3 separate regions of the Homo sapiens genome follow, and regions 2 and 3 are each linked to region 1. Evidence: promoter capture Hi-C in 16 types of primary human blood cells and fetal thymus (Javierre and others, 2016). All regions are on one chromosome and are shown on one strand. The core of a region is centred on a gene start or on the middle of the fragment in contact, and the rest is flanking DNA. Distances in the headings are between cores, read along the strand shown.

What was found. Contacts are between HindIII fragments. The CHiCAGO score rates a contact against its expected background, and 5 or more counts as called.
Region 2: a fragment that was not itself captured here is called in contact with the fragment with the promoter of SFT2D1 in region 1 in 2 of 17 cell types (monocytes and total B cells); the score reaches 7.1 in monocytes.
Region 3: a fragment that was not itself captured here is called in contact with the fragment with the promoter of SFT2D1 in region 1 in 1 of 17 cell types (naive B cells); the score reaches 6.5 in naive B cells.

Annotation. Positions count from the first base shown.
Region 1 is chr6:166,341,173-166,344,540 of GRCh38, reverse strand. SFT2D1 (SFT2 domain containing 1) reads left to right here and starts at 1,996. Exons shown (of 8, transcript NM_145169.3): 1 at 1,996-2,122. The coding sequence starts at 2,060. LOC100289495 (a long non-coding RNA gene) reads right to left here and starts at 1,910. Exons shown (of 2, transcript NR_040022.1): 1 at 1,394-1,910. RefSeq lists an enhancer at 1,171-2,064 and a silencer at 2,126-2,285. The HindIII fragment of the contact is 4,850 bases long and covers 1-2,530 here.
Region 2 is chr6:167,043,568-167,046,791 of GRCh38, reverse strand. CEP43 (centrosomal protein 43) reads right to left here. Exons shown (of 13, transcript NM_007045.4): 13 at 1-3,224. Among named protein-coding and RNA genes, the nearest start is that of CEP43, 46 kb to the right of the region's middle. The HindIII fragment of the contact is 5,824 bases long and covers 1-3,224 here.
Region 3 is chr6:167,129,336-167,132,890 of GRCh38, reverse strand. The region is part of intron 1 of CCR6 (C-C motif chemokine receptor 6); the gene reads right to left. Among named protein-coding and RNA genes, the nearest start is that of CCR6, 8.0 kb to the right of the region's middle. RefSeq lists an enhancer at 3,438-3,555. The HindIII fragment of the contact is 4,140 bases long and covers 1-3,555 here.

The DNA.
Region 1 (3,368 bases), core at 747-3,246:
ACTTGAAAATCTTGAAAGCAGTTATGTCAGATATGTGAACCAGAGAAGCCCATCTTGAATAGCGGCTGGGTAAAATGAGGTTGAGACCCACTGAGCTGCATTCCCAGACAGTTAAGTCATTCTAAGACACAGGATAAGATAGAAGGTCAGCACAAGATACAGATCATAAAGACCTTGCTGATGAAACAGACTGCAGTAAAGAAACCGGCCAAATCCCACCAAAACCAAGGTAACAAGAGAGACCTCTGGTCGTTCTCATTGCTACACTCCCACTAGCGCCATGGCAGTTTACAAATGCCATGGCAATATCACGAAGTTAGCCTATATGGTCTAAAAAGGGGAGGCATGAATCCACCCCTTGTTTAGCATATCATCAAGAAATAACCATAAAAATGGGCAACCAGCAGCCCTGGTAATAGACAGCCCTGCTCTGCCTATGGAGTAGCTATTCTTTTGTCCTTCTACTTTTTTTTTTTTTTTTTGAGACGGAGTCTCGCTCTGTCGCCCAGGCTGGAGTGCAGGGGCGCGATCTCGGCTCACTGCAAGCTCCGCCTCCCGGGTTCAAGCAATTCTCTGCCTCAGACTACCGATGTTCCTCTACTTTTTAAATAAACTTGTTTTCACTTGCCCTGAATTCTTTTTGCGCAAGATCCAAGAACCCTCTTTTGGGGTATGGATCCGGACCCCTTTCCCGTAACACTTACGGACATACTCTCTTATTCAACAGAAACATAGTTTTATTCTATAGATTTTACAATCTATTTTCTGACCTTTTAAAGTTAAGGACATAAGGATAAGACTTCTCATATTAGTATGAACAGGCCACATAGAAATATCTTCTGCCTAAAGGAAAAGGATGCTGAGCATTGGACCGTTTCATCACAAGAAGGCGCGACTTGCTTTCCTAGGGTTCCTGTGGTATTTGTTTTTATCTAATTGAGTTTAGATAAAATCTCTACTGAGGCAGTAGGATGGACAATGAAACTTTTTGAGGATCCACCTTTTAACTGAAAGATTTTAGGGAGGAAATGGAGTGGGCAAAGTAATCAAAAGAACAGGCATTCTCATTACCATCTTACCAAGCCTAGAAGCAAACAGAAGAGCAAAACCTATCACTTAATGACTTCTGGAGACCATATTAGACAGGCAGCCCTGATTTTTAATCTCCTTTCTTAGCATGGTGGAAAATGAGAGAGAGAAAAATGCCACTTCCCCATTTCTTAGTGTTTGTTCATCCAGCACGAGCCGGAGAACAGTAAACGCTTGTTCAATGGTTTCACTGTTCACACAAAACTGGAAAAATGGGTTGCATTAGCTATTCCTTTTATAAATAAGATTTCACTCTTTCAAACTCCTAGCTGACCAGTGAACTGAGTAAAGAAATAGCTCTCACAAGGGCAAAGGAGTGAGGCAGCCTCTTGCTATTTCTCCTGAGACGGTCTGAAATACAGCTCCTCGCTTTAATCCTGAGGCAGGTGTTTGTGTCTCCGGATGAGGACACCCAGCTGGGAAGGCTAGCGACGCCCCCAGGGCCACCTCATGGGTGGCAGGGCGCTCTTCGGAGCACGGCCACCTGCCCGCAGGAGCCCTCCGCTCTCCGATTCCAGGCGAGGGGAGGCGCATTCGGGGCCTCGACTTCTGGGAACCCGGGGTGCCGCGGACCCGCCCAGCAAGGCCCCTCGCGGGGCCCGGAGGACGCCAAGTGCAGGGTTCAGTGGTCGTGCCCCAGTCGGGTCTACACTCAATGGCTGTGCGCCAGCTGTGGGCAGGGGGTCCACACCCGCGCTGTGTCCCCGCGCGTTACCACGGCGCACCTCGCGGACAGTGGGAAGGGATAGCCCCACCATCAGCGCCCACTCCGCGGACTTCACGGACCACTACCGGGTCCGAGAGAAAGGCTGGTGAGCATGCGCGCATTGCTACGGCGGCCGCGCTGACGCACAGGAAGCGGGCGGGACCGGACTTCCGGCTGGTCTGTGGGGTTTCGGGTTCGGGGTTTCCTGGTGGGCGTCAGGGGCAGGCAACAGAGTGGCGGCCGCTACGGCCCTGTAACAGGGCCATGGAGAAGCTGCGGCGAGTCCTGAGCGGCCAGGACGACGAGGAGCAGGGCCTGACTGCGCAGGTAGCGAACTTGCGCCCTCGTCCAGTCCCGGGGCTGCCCGCTGGCCCCGGCCGCACTGAGGACCGGCCGAGCGGGTGGGGTGGGTGCGAGGCCGGGGGTCTGGGACTCCTCTGCCCGGCTGGTTGATTTAGGAGGGCTCCGCCTGCTTCCTGGGTAGAATTTGAGAACTTTCCAGTTTTCCATGCGGTCTACTTAAACCCACTTTGAGGCCCCCCCCCGACTCTCCCATCTGGCCTTCTGACTTAGGAATCCGCTAACGTCTGCCCTCGCTTTCCCAAATAATCCATCGCTCCCACGTACTATTTGGTTTTCTGAGCCTGGTGCGGGGTCTGGCCTCGGGCTGTGCAGCGTAAGTAGCTATGCAGGGCATTTATCCTGCAAGCTGCAGTGAGCCGAGACCCTAAAGCTTGTTGCATCTGTTTGTCTTTGGAGGTAAAGGTGGTGTTATGTGTGTGTTTGCTGGGGGGTGGTCTTTTGGAAATAGGGAGACTGGAGGAAAAATAAACAGGACATTGGTAAGTGAAATAATATTGAATTAAAATTTTTCTGTTAAGGCAGTGAGCCCTGGTAAGAGATTTTTTTTTTTTTCTTAATAAAAGCCCTTGTGTCTGCGCCTTACCAGCGAGACTTGATAAGGGTTACTTCCTCCAGCAAGAAGGTTAAAAGTAGCAGTGGAGCAGGAACTGCGGTGTAAGTTTTTTTGTTATTGCATGCGATTATATTGCACGTTATTGTGTGCTGTCGCAGAAGTTGGACGTTTAAAATTGAATTGTATTTCATAAGGATCTTCTATTTGTCTCTCCTGACTTCCTTGTCATTATACTTACTCAGCACTTGGTGTGGGTAGAGTTCTGGGCTACAGTTTTGGGTTCAGAGAGTGTAAGACAAGTATCTGTTCTCATTGCACTCTGTAACTCTGTATATTACCACAGCCACATGTGGCCAATGAATTTTTTTTTTTTTTTTTTTTAGATGGAGTCTTGCTTTGTCGCTCAGGCCTGGAGTGCAGTGGCGTGATCTCGACTCGCTGCAACCTCTGCCTCCCGGGTTCAAGCAATTCTCCTGCCTCAGCCTCCTGAGTAGCTGGGATTACAGGCACCTGCCACCATGCCCTGCTAATTATTTTGTGTTTTTAGTAGAGATGGGGGTTTCACCATGTTGGTCAGGCTGGTCTCGAACTCCTGACCTCAAGTGATCCGCCCACCTTGACCTCCCAAAGTGCTTGGATGACAGGCTTGAGCCACTG
Region 2 (3,224 bases), core at 457-2,956, 700 kb before region 1:
ACCCTGAGGCAGAATGGTCGTTGGATGGAGCCCCCTGAGAGGGCCTGGCCTTGGTGACATAGGTCTCTACAGTGGAGGCCATCCCTGGAGAGGCCATGAGAATGCCCACAGCAGCCAACAAAGCCCTTCACTGAAAAGGGATGTGGTGGCACATCACAGGATGGGGCCACCTCTGCATCTGCAGGTGGAGTGGACAGAAGAAATCAGCCAACTGCTTGTTGAAATGTACGGAGTGTTAATTTGCATAAGCAGTTCTAATTTAGAAATTAGGCTAAGAAATTCCATTTCCAAGCCTGTAGTTTAACTCCAGAAACACACCTTCTGCCAGAACTTACTACAAAGAGGTTTAGGTTTGCAGGAACAAATGGCTTTCTTCATTCTTTCCCTTCCTTCCTTCCTCCTTCCATTTTTCCCTTCCTCCATTCCATTTTCCTTCCCTTTCTTCCTTTCTCCTTCTCTCCCTCCCTCCCTTCCTTCCTTCCTCTTTCTTTCTTTCTAGTGTGATGGATATTTTCTTGGAAATGTGTGTTAAGTTGGGGTAGATCAAATAAGTGAACCCTGCAATAAATCATGACAAATAAAAATATTGGAGAATGTAATTCACGCTCAGATATGATCTGCCATATATACCTAACCTCTATAAATGTAATTAATATATAATTAATATATTGACACATAATAGTGTATGTTAAAATGTAAAGAGAAAACTAGAGGGAAACGTGAAGTTCCAACACTTACCGGCAGGGAGAGCACTGCCCCTTGGTGGAGCAATGCCCGCAGCAGGGATGAACCCATGAGAGCTGCTAGAAAAGGCCTGGCACTGGGGCAGTAGGGGTGCTGGGGCAGGAGAGGCGCATGGGCAGTAGGGGTGCTGGGGCAGGAGGGGATGTGCAGGATGAAGCATGCTTCATTCATTAAAAATTTTCCTTTCAGAAAGCTACTAGTGCTTTAGAAACCACAAAGGATTTCAAACAAAGTATGATTAAGAGGTATATCCAATAGTCTGGCAACTTACAAAACATGCCAAAATCGTTTTTTCGTTGTTGTTGTTGTTTTTGAGACGGAGTCTCGCTCTGTCACCCAGGCTGGAGTGCAGGGGCGTGATCTGGGCTCACTGCAAGCTCCGCCTCCTGGGTTCACGCCATTCTCCTGCCTCAGCCTCCCGAGTAGCTGGGACTGCAGGCACCCACCATCGCACCCAGCTCATTTTTTTTCTGTATTTTTAGTAGAGATGGGTTTTCACCATGTTAGCCAGGATGGTCTCGATCTCCTGACCTCGTGATCCGCCTGCCTCGGCCTCCCAAAGTGCTGGGATTACAGGCGTGAGCCACCGTGCCCGGCCCAAAATTGGTTTTTAAAGAAAATACAGGGCTGGGTACAGTGGCTCATGCCTGTAATCCCAGCACTTTGGGAGGCTGGGCCGCGGGGGGGGCGGGGAGGGGTGCGGATCACCATAGGTCAGGAGTTCAAGACCAGCCTGGCCAACACGGTGAGATCCCGTGTCTACTAAAAATACAAAAAAAATTCGCCGGGCATGGTGAAACACATCTGTAATCCCAGCTACTCAGGAGGCTGAGGCAGGAGAATCGCTTGAACCTGGGAGGCAGAGGTTGCAGTGAGCCGAGCTAGTACCACTGCACTCCAGCCTGGGCGACAGTGACTCAGTCTCAAAAAAAAAAAAGGAAAAAAAAAATACAAGTGTCTGAAAATTTAACATTTATGGAAAAAAAGTTTCATCATCAAATCTGATGATTCTACAAACTACCAAAAACAAACCTCCAGCTAAAACCGCAGAATGACTGGCCTCCTGCATGCCACTGTCCACGCTCCTCCATGCAGTACCTCCTGCCTCCACCCGGCCCACTAAGCTCAGGCCCCAGGCATGCCCTCTCCTCTTCCCCGGTTCTTGGGAAGCCGGTCTGGTGTGCAGAGGGCAAACCTTGCCCAGTGCTGCTGTTAAACTAAGAGGCAGAGAAGTGGCCAAGCACAGCATGTGCTAGAAGCGGGGCAGGAGTTGGGAGCCCGGCCCCTCCTCCCAGGGCTGTAGCAGAGCACACGTTTCTGCAGGCAGGGCCACAACGCAAAGTCGGATGACACGAGGGGCCAGCTCGACCTTACCTTGTTCGGGGGTTCATTTTCTAAGGGCAGCAAGATTCATTTTTAAAAACATGTATCAGGGAATAAATTTCACATTCAAAAACGCTGTCCCTCCTACCTCAGAGGCCTTGCTGTTTCCTTCTGTCTGCCACTCTCATTCACCCGGTGCACACCCAGGTTTCCTTGAACCTGAGGACACTTTTCCAATCTGACTTCCTCGGGGAAACTTTGTCAGCCTGGAGGTCCTCTGGCCAAGTCTCCTGGCGCATCTTGTCATCTTGGTCTTCTTGCTAAACATAAAGATTTCTTTGAAATTGCCTTTGAGCTTACTGATTTTGAGTCATCCCATTATTCAGCCCTGCTACTGAATTATCTTAGGCCAACAATTTTTTAGTCAAAAATCATTTTTATTATAACCTCTTTCATATAGCCTCTTTTAGATTCAAATGTTACCTCAAATCTCGGAGTGGCATAATCAGGTTTGTCTTAATCCATTCAGGTTCCTAAAGTACCTTGGACTGGATAATTTATAAAGAATGGAAGTGTAGGGCTCACAGCTCAGATGGCTTAAGTCCAAGATCAAGGTACCGGCAGGTTCACCATCTGGGAGGGCCTGTTTCCTCATAGGCAACACCTCCTCACTGTGTCCTCACACGCTGGAAGGGGCAAAGCAGCTCTCCCGGGCCTCCTATAAGGGCGCTAATGATCTCATCAACTTCCAGAGGCCCTACCTAATTCCATCCTATGTGGGATTAGGTTTCGACATACACATTTTGGGGGACACATTCAGTCCTTCACAGGTTTTTGTTCTTGAATTATCTCGTTTCCTGATTACATTTTCTTCAAGATCAGTTCTTTGTTCATCTGTCTTTCATGACATACATTCACTTTCCTTAAATGTCAGATGCTTGTTGAACGTGTGGAACTCTGAACGCAGCATTAGGACAACTCACAAAGGTAGCTGCCCTGGATTTCCTCCCCAAACACGTCCCTTCCTAGAGCAGGAAGACTAGGCCGGGCACCGTGACTCACACCTGTATTCCCAGCACTTTGGGAGGCTGAGGCGGGTGGATCACCTGAGGTCAGGAGTTTGAGACCAGCCTGGCCAACATGGTGAAATCCCGTCT
Region 3 (3,555 bases), core at 674-3,173, 790 kb before region 1:
CGCTCAATGCCATTAATCATGAGGAAAATGCAAATTAAAACCACAATGAAGGCTGGGAACAGTGGCTCAGGCCTGTAATCCCAGCAATTTGGGAGGCCGAGGCAGACGGACCACTTAAGTCCAGGAGTTCGAGACCATCCTGGCCAACATGGTGAAACCCCATCTTTACTAAAAATACAAAAATTAGCCAGGCGTGATGGCGTGCTCCTGTAATCCCAGCTACTTGGGGGGCTGAGGCAGGAGAATCAGTTGAACCCGGGAGGCGGAGGTTGCAATGAGCTGAGATTACGCCACTGCAGTCCAGCCTGGGTGACAGAGAGAGACTCCGTCCAAAACACACACACACATACACACACACACACAGACACACACACAGAGATCCCACTGGAAGGACTAAGATTAAACAGGGGGCTGGAAGCTGGGAGAGGACATGGTGCATCTGGGGCTCTCACACTTTGTTGGTGGGACTGCAAGATCACACAGCCACTCCAAGGAGACAGTGGGGTCCTTTCTTGCACAGCTGAACATGCATCCACCATGGGAACCTGCAACCGACTCCTACATGTCTACCCAAGAGACATGGGAGGATTAACACTGGAACATTCCCAGCAGGTTTATTCTTAACCGTCCCAAACTGAAAAAGACCCAAATGTCTGTGAACTGGTGAGCAGATACCCGAGTTGAAGTGTATCCATGCAACAGCATATACTACTCAACCATGAAAAGGAACGGGCGACTAATGCATGCTCCAACGGGGGTGACTCAAAACCTTCGCTCGGTAAGAAATCCAGGCAGAAGAGACCATGCACTGCACCATTCCACCCCTAACATTTCTAGAAAAGGCAAAATAACAGTGGCAGGAATGAAATCAGGGATTGTCATCAGGACGGGAAGAAGGGATTGGCTGGGGTTGGGCGACACAAGGGGCTTTTGTGGTGGCAGAAATGTCCTCTATCCTGATTGTGGGGGTGGCACATGGCTGGGTGCCCTTGTCAAGACCTGTTGAATTGTACCCTTCAATCGGTGACATTTATTGCATATAAATTAGCCTCAATAAAGTTAATTTAAAAGTACCTGCGTACTCTTCCGCGCAAATGTGTTGGAACAGACACTTAGTGCCATAAACAGTCACAGCAAGGATCTGCCGCTGAGCACTGAGGGGTAATGGGAGGTTCTGGGGCAAGAAGAGCTTTTGAGGACTCCATAAGGACAGAGGCGGGGACGGTGGGAAGGAGTGGGCAGTGTGGGTGGAAGGCAGGGGCTTGGGGACAGCGAGGGGGAGGCCTGCAGCAGGGGCGCGGCTCTGGAGAACAAGGGAGCAGGGGCTGTGGGGAGCGGTCGCTGCAGGGTTGGACGGATGCTAGGCCAAGGTGGGGCCAGCGGCACGGGTTCCCAGGTGAGTGGGGCTGGGACCGGATGGGAGGGAGTGACCTCCCCATCACGTGGAGGCTGAGTTGATGACGATGGGAAGAGCAGCGGGGGCCAAAAAGGGAGGGACGGCCCGGCACGCCGTGCACTCGATGCCCAACGGGCCCCCATTTAAGGTAAGCATTTGTTTAACTGCACCGTGACACACAGTATTTTCTGAATTTAAGTTGAACTCAGTTCAACAAATGTTTATGAACTGTCTACGGAGGAGAGGCACTGAAGTGCAGCGATGACTCAACGCGTACTTGAGCTTCAAAAGGCTGCCAGGTAAACAAGTAATTATATAACGGTTCCATGCTAGCAGTCATCACGAGATGCACCCCAGAAAGTGAGTAACTCTTGGTGAACAGAAGGCCAGCACTGGGGCGCCTGTGTGATGGATCCCTGTCGGCAGAAGGAGTTGGGAGGGGGCCCAGAGAGAAGGGGTCCAGAGGGATGGGGGTCCCAGAAGGAGGGGTCCCAAAGGGAGGGGGTCCAGAGGGAGGGTGGTCCCAGAGGGAGGAGTCCCGGAGGGAGGGGGGCCCAGAGGGTGGGGTCCCTGAGAGAAGGAGGCCCAGAGGGAACCAGATACACAGGCCACAGGGCAGGAAGTTCCCGGCAGAGCTATGAGAAGCTGGCCTACTCCGTCCTGTTCATAAGACACTACTTTAATTTCCTTTCATTTATTCTCATGTCAGAATAAGTCAATGAACCAAAATTGATAAATTCCATGTCTCTTAGGATGGTGTTTTGCACGTGTTAGGTATAAACAATGTACAATTCTAGATAATGACAAATTTAATGTCACTGTGGTTAAGAATCAGGATTCTCCATAAAAACGGTGGTTGTCAGGTTCACCTGTATGCCAGCCACAGTCATTGAAAATGATTCGGCCTTCCCCAAGCCACTGTTTTCACAGGAAAAACTGTGTGAATTGTTTTAAGGAAACTGTTTTGGTGACAGATTGGCGTGGGTATCACCTCAACGTGTAAAGAATCCTGTTCACAACTTGCTCTATCATCTCAGATCTCAGGCAGCAGTCACCAGCTCCTTGGAGAAACAGGCTGCAGATTTTCTATTAAGAAAATGTTGATGTGAAGACACTAAGAAGTTTTTTAGTAGATATTTCTGTTCCTTCTTTAATGAACTGAGAATAAGACACCCTGTTATCTACGAGTGGCAGATGAGAGATGCAGGGAAATGTGCTGAGCCCTGTGTCCAGTTCTTGGTGAACCAGTGAACCTACCCTTGCAAAGCAGCCACCTGCAACACATCTCACACTGTCTCTTTGAGGTTCAGCACTTCCTATCTCACACGTGGTCCCTATGACCACCATTCTCACCAGATCTCACTTTGATGTCATTAAATCACATGTAAAATACATTCAGCTCAACTGATTCTTAAAGTGTAATTTTCTTGTCTTTGGAATTTAGATATTTCCCAAACAAGTGGGCAGAGGAATACTTCTAGAGCTTCTGTAGGACACACTGTTCTTTGGAGGAGGAGTTTCAGGGGCTCTAAGAAAAAGTCATCTAATGACACACTTTAGAAATGTCATTTGACTCAATTCGGTTTTGCAGTTAAGAGGCTTCTTTTCCAATATTCAGCTGCCTCAAGTAAAGTGTCGATTGTTGCTGTCTCAGTAACTCATTGTCACCCCCCACCTGAATGTTAGCCTCTCACAGGACCCGGGGTACCCTGTAGGGCGGGCACACTATGGCATGACACCAAATGAGAGACTCATCATGTCTCATCCCCTGAGTATCTCCTTCACCAGGAAGGCATATCTCATTGACTGAGCTTTATCACATGTTCTGAAGACAAGAGAAAGCAGAATTTCTTGATTCCTGTTTGGCACCTCTCTACTCTTTTTTAAAAAAAGCATTTCAAAAATATTCAGGGAATGTTGCAGTGAATTTGCCTGACTCCAGCGAATGGTGCCTGTGAAGTCCAGGAGCATAGAGCTGGTGTAAGGAAGCTCAAAACCCATTTGCAGAGAGAAAGAAGATAATGCCTCCGAATGAGGTAAAATGTTGGCTGTTGGTTCTCAGCAGGGTGTTGAGGGCATTATGAAGCAAGTGCAGGAGCGTCTGGAACGGAAGTGGTGGGCCCTTGGGGGTCAGCGTGGGTTTGGTAACACTCAGTCAT